2 separate regions of the Homo sapiens genome follow, and region 1 is linked to region 2. The links are contacts of gene promoters, found by promoter capture Hi-C in blood cells and fetal thymus (Javierre and others, 2016). All regions are on one chromosome and are shown on one strand. Each heading gives the region's core, a stretch centred on a gene start or on the middle of the fragment in contact. The rest is flanking DNA. Distances are from core to core; before and after follow the strand shown.

Region 1 (4,428 bases), core at 1,036-3,535, 280 kb before region 2:
TCCATTCTAGCTTCTATTCCTACTTTGTACTTGGCCTACTTGTGAAATATGTCTTCATGTAACATTGAGGAAAGGCAGTAAAAAAAAATTTCTATTGCCATAAAAAACACATAATTAATGCTGCAGTGGCAAACAAAAACCAATGCTAGTGTAACCACCCAAGGGGTTCACCTTGCCCGGTGCCTAGACAGAGCCGATTCATCAAGACAGGGGAATTGCAATAGAGAAAGAGTAATTTATAGAGCCGGCTGTGCAGGAGACTGGAGTTTTATTATTATTCAAATCAAACTCCCTGAGCATTCAGGGAGCAGAGTTTTTAAGGATAACTTGGTTGGGTGGGGGGAAGCCAGTGAGCCAGGAGTGCTGGTTGACAGGGATGAAATCACAGGGAGTCGAAGCTGTCTCCTTGTGCTGAGTCAGTTCTTGGGTGGGTGCCACAAGATCAGATGAGCCGGTTTATTGATTTGGGTGGTGCCAGCTGATCCATCAAGTGCAGGGTCTGCAAAGTATCTCAAGCACTGATCTTAGGAGCAGTTTAGGGAGTCAGATTCTTATAGCCTCCAGCTGCATGACTCCTAAACCGTAATTTCTAACCTTCTGGCTAATATTGGTCTAGTCCCCAGGCAAGAAGGAGGTCTGCTTTGGGAAAGGGCTGTTACCATCTTTTTTTTTAAACTATAAACTAAATTTCTCTCAAAGTTAGTTCGTCCTACGCCCAGGAATGAAAAAGACAGCATGGAGGTTAGAAGCAAGATGGAGTCAGTTAAGTTAGATCTCTTTCGCTGTCTCAGTCATAATTTTGCAAAGGTAGTTTCAATCGTGCTGATTATTCTCACTGCCTACTTAAGTGTAGTATGAAAGGAACTATTCCTGGTAGAAGCTGATATCTCTATCTGAAAGGCAGGATGTGGCCTCTAAGAACCCGCTCTTACTTCTAAAAGGACAGGTCCTAAGAGACTGCATCAAGCCTTCAGCTCACAAAGAATTGCTGCTGGTACCATTCAAATTATTCATTCTAGAAAGCCCAAAAAAATATTTCTTAAACCTGCTAACTATAACCTTCCGTAATAGCAGCATAGACTACCAGAAGCCAAAAATATACATTTCATGTAAACAGCTTTGAGCTTTGTCAAGTGTTAAATACTGAACTGGTCATCGTACATGACTCAAAGTATCTAACTCAGGGGTGTTTTCTGCACACATTAGTCAATGCCATCTCCTGACAAAATATGACATGCCATTTGCGGCTCTACTAGGCATTCTAAATATCAGGAAAAAAGAAGAGAACTAAGGTATGAGATTGTTACACGCGGTTGTGAGTAACAGCAAGGGAAAAGCAATAGAACAGAGGTCTCTGGGCAGAAAGTTCCTACCAGAGAAATTCTGCTGGTTTGTTCTAATACCCAGGCACTGAGTTAGCTTCCAATGCAAAAGCACAAAATATTAGAAGGAATATTAATATAACCTCTCACTCTATAGAGGAGAAAGCAAAATCCTTCAACTACCTCTCAATTTTAGTTGAAGCATTTAGAGGAGTTTTCTGATGGATATACATAAAACCTGCTTTACACAAATTGGTTTTATGGTGTCCTTGGTTGGAGCATCTCTATTACATAAATCATGAAATGACTGCTTTTGGACAAAATTTCCCCTTTATATTTCTCTAGACTAGGGAACCTGATATAGAGTGTGAAGAACCTTTTTTCTTCTCCCATTCTCTTTTTTTGGGGGCTGATTTTTGGTTCATATTTGTAGGTTCAAGGACAACTCTGTAAAGAATTTTGAAAATTCAAACTTCAACCAATTTGAGGATATCCTAACCCAGTAGTGTTGAAAGTGTGTTCACAGACTACTGACAACTGTTTCTTATCAGTTCATGACAAGATTCATACCGAAATTGAGAATTGCATTTAGAATGCAATAATTTTAAATCCCTTAAAGCTAATGACAAAAAAAGAGGTGTTTATATTTTGTGTATTCATCCATGAGGAACTGGGAATTTAAAAGAACTAGCTGGTTTTTAATCCCAGATATTTTGAGAAGCATTGTTCTAACTTGTGGTCTTTTCAATTGCCCATGCCTTGCTTTTGATCCATAGTTGTATAATGATTGATTCTGACCTTCTGATTAGCAAAGCCCAGGGTAGAAAAATCAAGCACAAAGTCCAGTAAAAATAATTCATCACCTGGTACCAGTATAATATGGCTTGATTTTTGCCTTGAAAAGCACTATCACATATTAGCTCTTTTAAAGTTTTGCAACCATATGAGATAGGAAAGATATTACATGTATTTTATATGTGATTCAGCTGAGCTCAGAGAGAGTGTGCCCTGTCTGAGCTCCCACAGCTAAGCTGACAAACTGGAGAGGGTTAGGAAAGAGTTGAAAGGCTATTCACTGGATGACTGACCATGAAAAAATTGCTTAATTTCTCTGAGGTTTACTTTCCTTATTTGAAGCAAGCAGATAATAATAATTACCTGGCAGGTTGGATGCTTGATGAAAGGAACAAATGAGAAAATATGGTAAACATTTAAAAAATTGTTATTTGTCCTTATTAAGATCTGTTCACTTGCATTACAGGTAGAACAATAGTATCTCACAAAAGTAGGATAGTTTTCCCAGGGCCTGGAACACATACAAAAAAAGTGTCAGTAAATAGTAGCAGAATGAATGTCTAAATGAATGAGCATGGCTTTTTGTCTGTACTAAATTCTTTCTAATGTGCACAGAACTTGATTAAAAGGAATGTAATCTTGCAAATTCTATTCTCTACTGGTATATTACTTAGGATTTCATGGATTGTATTCAACTATATACACATTTTTGGATAGTTGACCCAGAGATTTTCAAACTCATTTTAATTAACGAACTCGTTTCTCCAAAGTTTTATGTACAGTTTCGTAGTTTAAAAACAAATATATATATATACACACACACACAGAGTATATACACATATATGCTATAGATGTGTGTATATACTATGTGAGGCATAGTATATATACAACCTCATAGTATATATGTATATATACCATGTATACATATAGATATATACATACACATATATGTATATATACACATATATATAATACATATTATTTATAGTATATACAAGGGATTATTTTTATTGGAGTTTGTGTCTGATTTTATACTTGATATTGTATCTGTGTGTGTGTGTTTGTATTTGGTGACAGAAACAGCATGATCTGGTTCCTGACTCACTCAGCCTCTCCCTGGCCCCAAAATAGCTCCTGAAATGCTTTTTCAAGCCCCTAGGGCTCCATGAAGCACAGTCTTAAAAACACTGTCTTTTTTATTAGTCGACAGCATGAACAAGTAACAGTAGAAACAAGTTTAACCAAAATGTCCAGAACTGACAAGAATTTATAGTAAGTTAGAAAAAATAAAGGCAAGCATACAGACTTTCAGAAACATAGATATCTCTCCTGAAAAATCTCCCAGAAGTGATAGCCATGAGTCAAATATTACATTTTACCTTTGAAAGTCCAAACTGTAGTGAGTTATCCATAACCTTCTGTGGTTCCACCCAATTTTGTGTTTTGCATGTTTTGAGAGAAATGCAGAATTTCCTGTAGGGTGCTGTGGTTTTCATTGCTTGGTTGATGTTGTGAACATCCAGGGCCAGCTTTCCTCAAGTTCAAAGACAGGAAAACACAAGACACCAATGAAGAAGTTACAAACCTCCCAATACTCTAGTGACCCTGACTTAGAAGGGCCAGGTAGCTGAAAACAGTGACCTGATCAGTCAGAGAAAGTAGAATGGGACCTCTTTAGCACTAATACTTGAAAGAACATGCTACAGCCTCATGTCATGTGCTAGACAAGACATTGGAGCTCCCAAAAAATTGCCTGGGTACAGCAGTCAGTGCAGCCCAGGAAGTTTGTGCAGTTGAGGACACTGAAAAGGTAGAGTGCCAAGGGGCCCATCCATAGGTCAAAGTGGGCACATGGTGAACTCTCAAGATGAGGAGCTTAGTTGTAGCTTTGCTGAGTTCATGGAGAAGACAGGACATGCAATTCACTTATTAAAGTGCCAAAAAGTTGAAAGAATCATGGCTTTGTGTCCTGACTTTCCTGGTCGCATTCTCTCATCTACATAGCAGATGGACTCCCCTCTGGGCTGACAACCTTAGTATGGTTTATATGGCTTGAATTAGTAAATGCTACTCCAAGGTATTGCCATTCCATTTGTCTTCACCCATAGATTTCTCTTTTTCTTTTTTTCTTTTTGAGACAGAGTATCACTCTGTCACTCAGGCTGGAGTGCAGTGGTGCCATCTCGGCTCACTGCAACATCTGCCTCCTGGGTTCAAGGGATTCTCCTGACTCAGCCTCCTGAATAGCTGGGATTACAGCCACCCACCACCACACCCAGCTGATTTTTGTATTTTTAGTAAAGATGGGGTT
Region 2 (4,412 bases), core at 134-2,633:
TTATTTGATGAACACCGGGTGCTCATCAGCAGATGCTTCCTAGTCTGAAAATCTGTAGAAGTCCCTAAGATGTAGTTCATGTGTTATTTATGGCTCTAAAGGCAGCACTAGCATTCTAAATGGAAGTAAAGGCTGGTTGCTACCTAACAAGAATTTTCTTACTGTCCCAACAACTACCTGAAGACAGAATGGGCTGCCTCGGGGATGGGTAGTGAGTTGGTGAATTTCCCAGGCCTAATAGGAGTTGTTAAAGAATTTTTGAATAGAGAAAGAGGGAAGATTAATCTGTAAAGTGTGTAGGAAGGATAGATGGGATAATCTGTAAAGTGTGTAGGATGGATATATGGGAAAGGGGATGTGATGATCTAAGTCAAGCTTGTCCAACCCGCCTTATTTTGTTGTTCTGTTCTGTTTTGTTTTAGGCTTTTTGCAGCTTAAAGCCATGGTTTTTAGTTTGTCTCTAGTGAAAAGAGGGATGAGGAAAGGGCTTTACCAGCCCAACCGGAAACAAAGAACCCATGACTGTATTCTCTCCCTTGGGCCCCGGAGCTACGTATTTAATATTCATAACAGCTTCCATTTGAGTGTTCATTTACCATGCCAGGCAGTGTTCCAAATGCTTTCTCTACATTATCAACTCTTTCATCCCCCCAAACAGCCCTATGAGGAAGGTGCTTTTATCTCCATTTGAAAGTGAGATCAGTGAGGCACAGAAAGGTTCAATGACTCCTTCAAGCTCCAGCAAAGGGTAGAGCTAGTATTCAAACCCAAACAACCTGGCTCCTGCGCCAGGCTCCTACCTACTATATGCCCTTCACCCTAACAAATACCACCCATTTAGGTGGCAAAACACCGTCGTTTACAGCGCACTGTCTCCTAAATTACATCATTAGATATTCCCAACGCCCCTGTGAGGAGTAGGAGGACTAACTCCATTTCACAGATAAGCAGATAGAGGTCCGAAAAGATTGCAGTTTGAGTCCCAGTGCTTAGGTGACGTCCACCGCTCCTCGGGTACAGGAAAAAGAAGGAAAGGGGAAATGGACGGAAGGGTAAACAAGACTCCGAAGACCCGGGTGAGCAAGGGTTCCCAGGCAGCACTGTTCCCCGGCACCAGCTGAGTCCACCTCTCTCCGCCCCCTCAGCGCACGGCTGAGCCTTGGTCTTTCATCTCTCCAGCCAAGCCCTGGGTTAGCACAGCTGGTTCAATGAAGGAATGCGAAGCCAGAGGCCCTACAAGCTACACCAGCAAAGTGCTGGGACCGCTCGACCCCTACGTGCCCCGCGCCCCTTCCCAGCGTCCCCCGGGCCGGGAAGTCCCGGTACCACCCCCGCCCACATGCGCCGGCTGGGCCTGGCGGCCTCCCCCGGAAACGTTCCCCCATCCTCGCCCGGCGCCTCACTCACCAAGGGCCGCGCCGGGGTTCTGCACTGTCACTGCGCTGCGGTTCCCCGCCTTAGGGATTCTCACACGGTTCCACGGCTCCAGGCCCGGCGGCACCGCAGCCATCATGCGAGGCGGGGGGACTTACGAAAGGCGGAGCTACGCGAGAGCACGTCCAGCGACCGGAGGTGGGGCGATGGGACCCAGTCCGGGCCGGAAGGGAGCAGGGGGTGGGGCTCGGGCGGGGCCAGGAGCCCGGCGGGAGGCTGCCTTCATCGAGTAAACGCGTGGGACTGGGAAGGACCCAGTCATCTGTATATTGGTTACCAACACGTGGCCGCGTAGAATCATGGGGGAAAAAAGGCCCCATCCCAATACTAACCAACAGAATCTCTGAGAATGCGATGAGGAATCTGCGTTTTGTTTAAACTTAGCGCAGGGGATTCGGAAGCACAACCAAGTTTGGAACTGTTAAATACTTCTAGGCATTTTACAAATATGGAAAATGAGGCCCAGAATTGAGTTGGTGCTTTTACCCCCAACTCTGCCTCAGACATTAGGGGAAAAAGGAAGAAATGAAATGAAGAGGTTTGTGCAAGGTGTGGAATTTGTAGCGAAGAAGCAGTGATTTGCTTTGAGTGGTAAAGGAAGGCTCCTTTATGTCTTGAACCACAGCAAAACCGAGATCACATCAAAGAAACTTGGAAGACACCTGTCAGTCATTCCCACTTTTGTCAGTCTCCAAGACAAGATCATATTCCAAGCTCTAGTGATCCTTACCTCATTAATATCTTTCTAATAATTCATTTATCCTCAGCCATGCTAATGCCCCCTTAAGTTCTTAACACTCCCACAGTAACGTATTAGAAAAACAGTGAGTTTTGGAAACAGACTGCCAAGGTTCTAGTTCTAGCTTTGCTGTTTACTAGCTCGGTGATCTCAGGAAATTTACTTACCTCCTCCTCCAGACCTTAGTATCCCTGTGGGTAAAATGAAGATGATAATAATAGTATCAATCTCACAGACTTGTAAAATGCCAAGGCACTCCTGGCATACAAACAATGAACATTTACCATAGTTAATATTGTTGATGTTATTACTACTATTTCATGCAAGCAGTCTTACTTTATTGAAACACTTTCCATGCTCTTTCTGTGCGCCTTTACACATCTACCTACTCTACCTGGGTCATCCTCGGAAACACAATCTCCTTTCCTCAGCTCTGGGGTCGTCACTTGGGGTAATTCTTCCTAAACACCCCGTCCTCACTCCATAACTTGATACAGAGGCCCCTTTAATGTGTTACCACAGTGCCCTATGTTGGCCTATGTATTAGTTTTCTATTGCTGCTGTAACCAATTACGACAAACCTAATGGCTTGAAATAAGTAGAAGTTATTTTACATTTCTGGAGGTCAGAAGTCCAAAATTAATTTCAATGGACTGAAGTTGGCAGGGCTGGTTCCTTCCGGAATCTCTAGGGAAGAATTCATTTCCTTTCCTTTTCCAGCTTCTAGAGGCTGCCTTCATTCCTTGGCTCATTTCACTATCCTCCACCTTCATTGTCAGCATGACATTTTTCAGTCTCCTCCTCTTCCTCTGTCTCTCTCACCCTCCTGCCTGCCTCCCTCTTAAAAACACCCTTGTGATTACATTGAGCCCATCAAGATAATCAGGATAGTCACTCCATCTCAGAATCTTTAACTTAATCACATCTGTTTTAGAACTCCAAATTCAGGCTCATGTACCCGATGGGCAGCTGATGCCAAATATTGAGATACTGGTGCTTGGAGACAGAGAAATATTTATTCGATTTGACCAAAGTTAGAGGGCAAGAGAGCAAGATCTCTCAGATCCACAGTAACAAAAAAGAAGCAGGGAGTTTTTATGGAGCTAGAGAGTAATGGAGAGGGAGTTTCAAGGAATCCAAGGGAAAAGTCTGTGTTTCTTCCATTTCAGGTAACACCTTGTGCAGCCGTATGTACATGGCAGCTGGTTGCAATGTCCTTCCAGGAATTCATTCCTTCTGCAAACTATTCTTATGACCCTGAAGTTATCTCCTTCTGCTTGACAAAGAAACAGTACATCAGCAGTTTATAATTACATTGTGGGAACAAGGAATACTGGGCAAAAAGCGAGTGGTTAACATGTACAAGCAAGCAAGGGCCTGTTCAAAATTTTCATTATTTCATGCACACACACACACACACACACACACAAAAATGCTGGGGTGCTGAAATCTCAAGCAGCTGAAATCTCAAGGTTATATAGCTACAAAATCCCTTCTCAGTGCAAGGTAACATATTTACAGATTATGGAAATTAGCATGTGAACATCTTTGGGTGGGAGGTGGAGGGATCTTTATTCAGCCTACCACAGCCTCTCTCACAGAATTTACCTCGCTTTATTGTATTTCTTTGTTTACTTTCATGTCTATTTCTCCAATGGCATATGAACCTACTGAAAGCGAGAACTACCATTGACATAGCTAACTGGTCTTTCTATCTCAATGCTTAGTTCAGAGCCTGGCATATAGTAGGGCCTCAGTAGATATTTACTGGCTGTATATGAGGTTGGATGATGCTTGAATAGAGTCTTTTGAAGGATGAATAGGAACTCCCCAGGCAGTTAAAGGAAAAAGGATATTCCTACAGAGAGGTTTTAAGCAGCATGGGTTTGAAGAATCACTAGTCCTGAGTTGGTACTGCTGGGACGTGATTTGTGCTGAGGGGTGGAGCTGGGAATAGTGGTGTCAGTCAGATCATGGGAAGAATTTGGCTTTTTACCTGAAGACCAGTAGTTCAGAAACCTGGCTGATTATCAAAATTGCCTGGATAACTTAAAAATAGAGATTTTCAGGTCCCACTTGAAAATTCTTACTCATTAGTTCTGAGTAGGTCTGTTTTGAAAAGGTCTTTGTGATGGTACTCTAGGTTGACGTGTCCTTGCTATAGGTGATAAAGGAGTCACTCACTGAGTCTTAGGCAGAGCAATTTTTGTCAGCTTGCCTCAGAAGAAGAGCACCCTGG

What was found. The method cuts DNA at HindIII sites, captures the fragments that hold promoters and counts their contacts. A CHiCAGO score of 5 or more calls a contact.
Region 1: a contact is called between a fragment that was not itself captured here and the fragment with the promoter of NEPRO-AS1 in region 2, in 3 of 17 cell types (non-activated CD4 T cells, activated CD4 T cells and total B cells). The highest score is 6.0, in non-activated CD4 T cells.

The regions. Positions count from the first base shown.
Region 1 is chr3:112,736,198-112,740,625 of GRCh38, forward strand. LINC02042 (long intergenic non-protein coding RNA 2042) reads right to left here. Exons shown (of 5, transcript NR_110017.1): 3 at 3,497-4,428; 4 at 2,481-2,628; 5 at 252-499. It overlaps MIR9900 (microRNA 9900), which reads left to right and starts at 892; the gene lies at 892-984. The HindIII fragment of the contact is 7,250 bases long and covers 1-4,428 here.
Region 2 is chr3:113,018,135-113,022,546 of GRCh38, forward strand. It overlaps NEPRO-AS1 (NEPRO antisense RNA 1), which reads left to right and starts at 1,384. Exons shown (of 3, transcript NR_186663.1): 1 at 1,384-1,572. It overlaps RMP64 (ribonuclease MRP subunit p64), which reads right to left and starts at 1,537. Exons shown (of 9, transcript NM_015412.4): 1 at 1,408-1,537. The coding sequence starts at 1,513. RefSeq lists an enhancer at 986-1,055 and a silencer at 1,216-1,325. The HindIII fragment of the contact is 8,907 bases long and covers 374-4,412 here.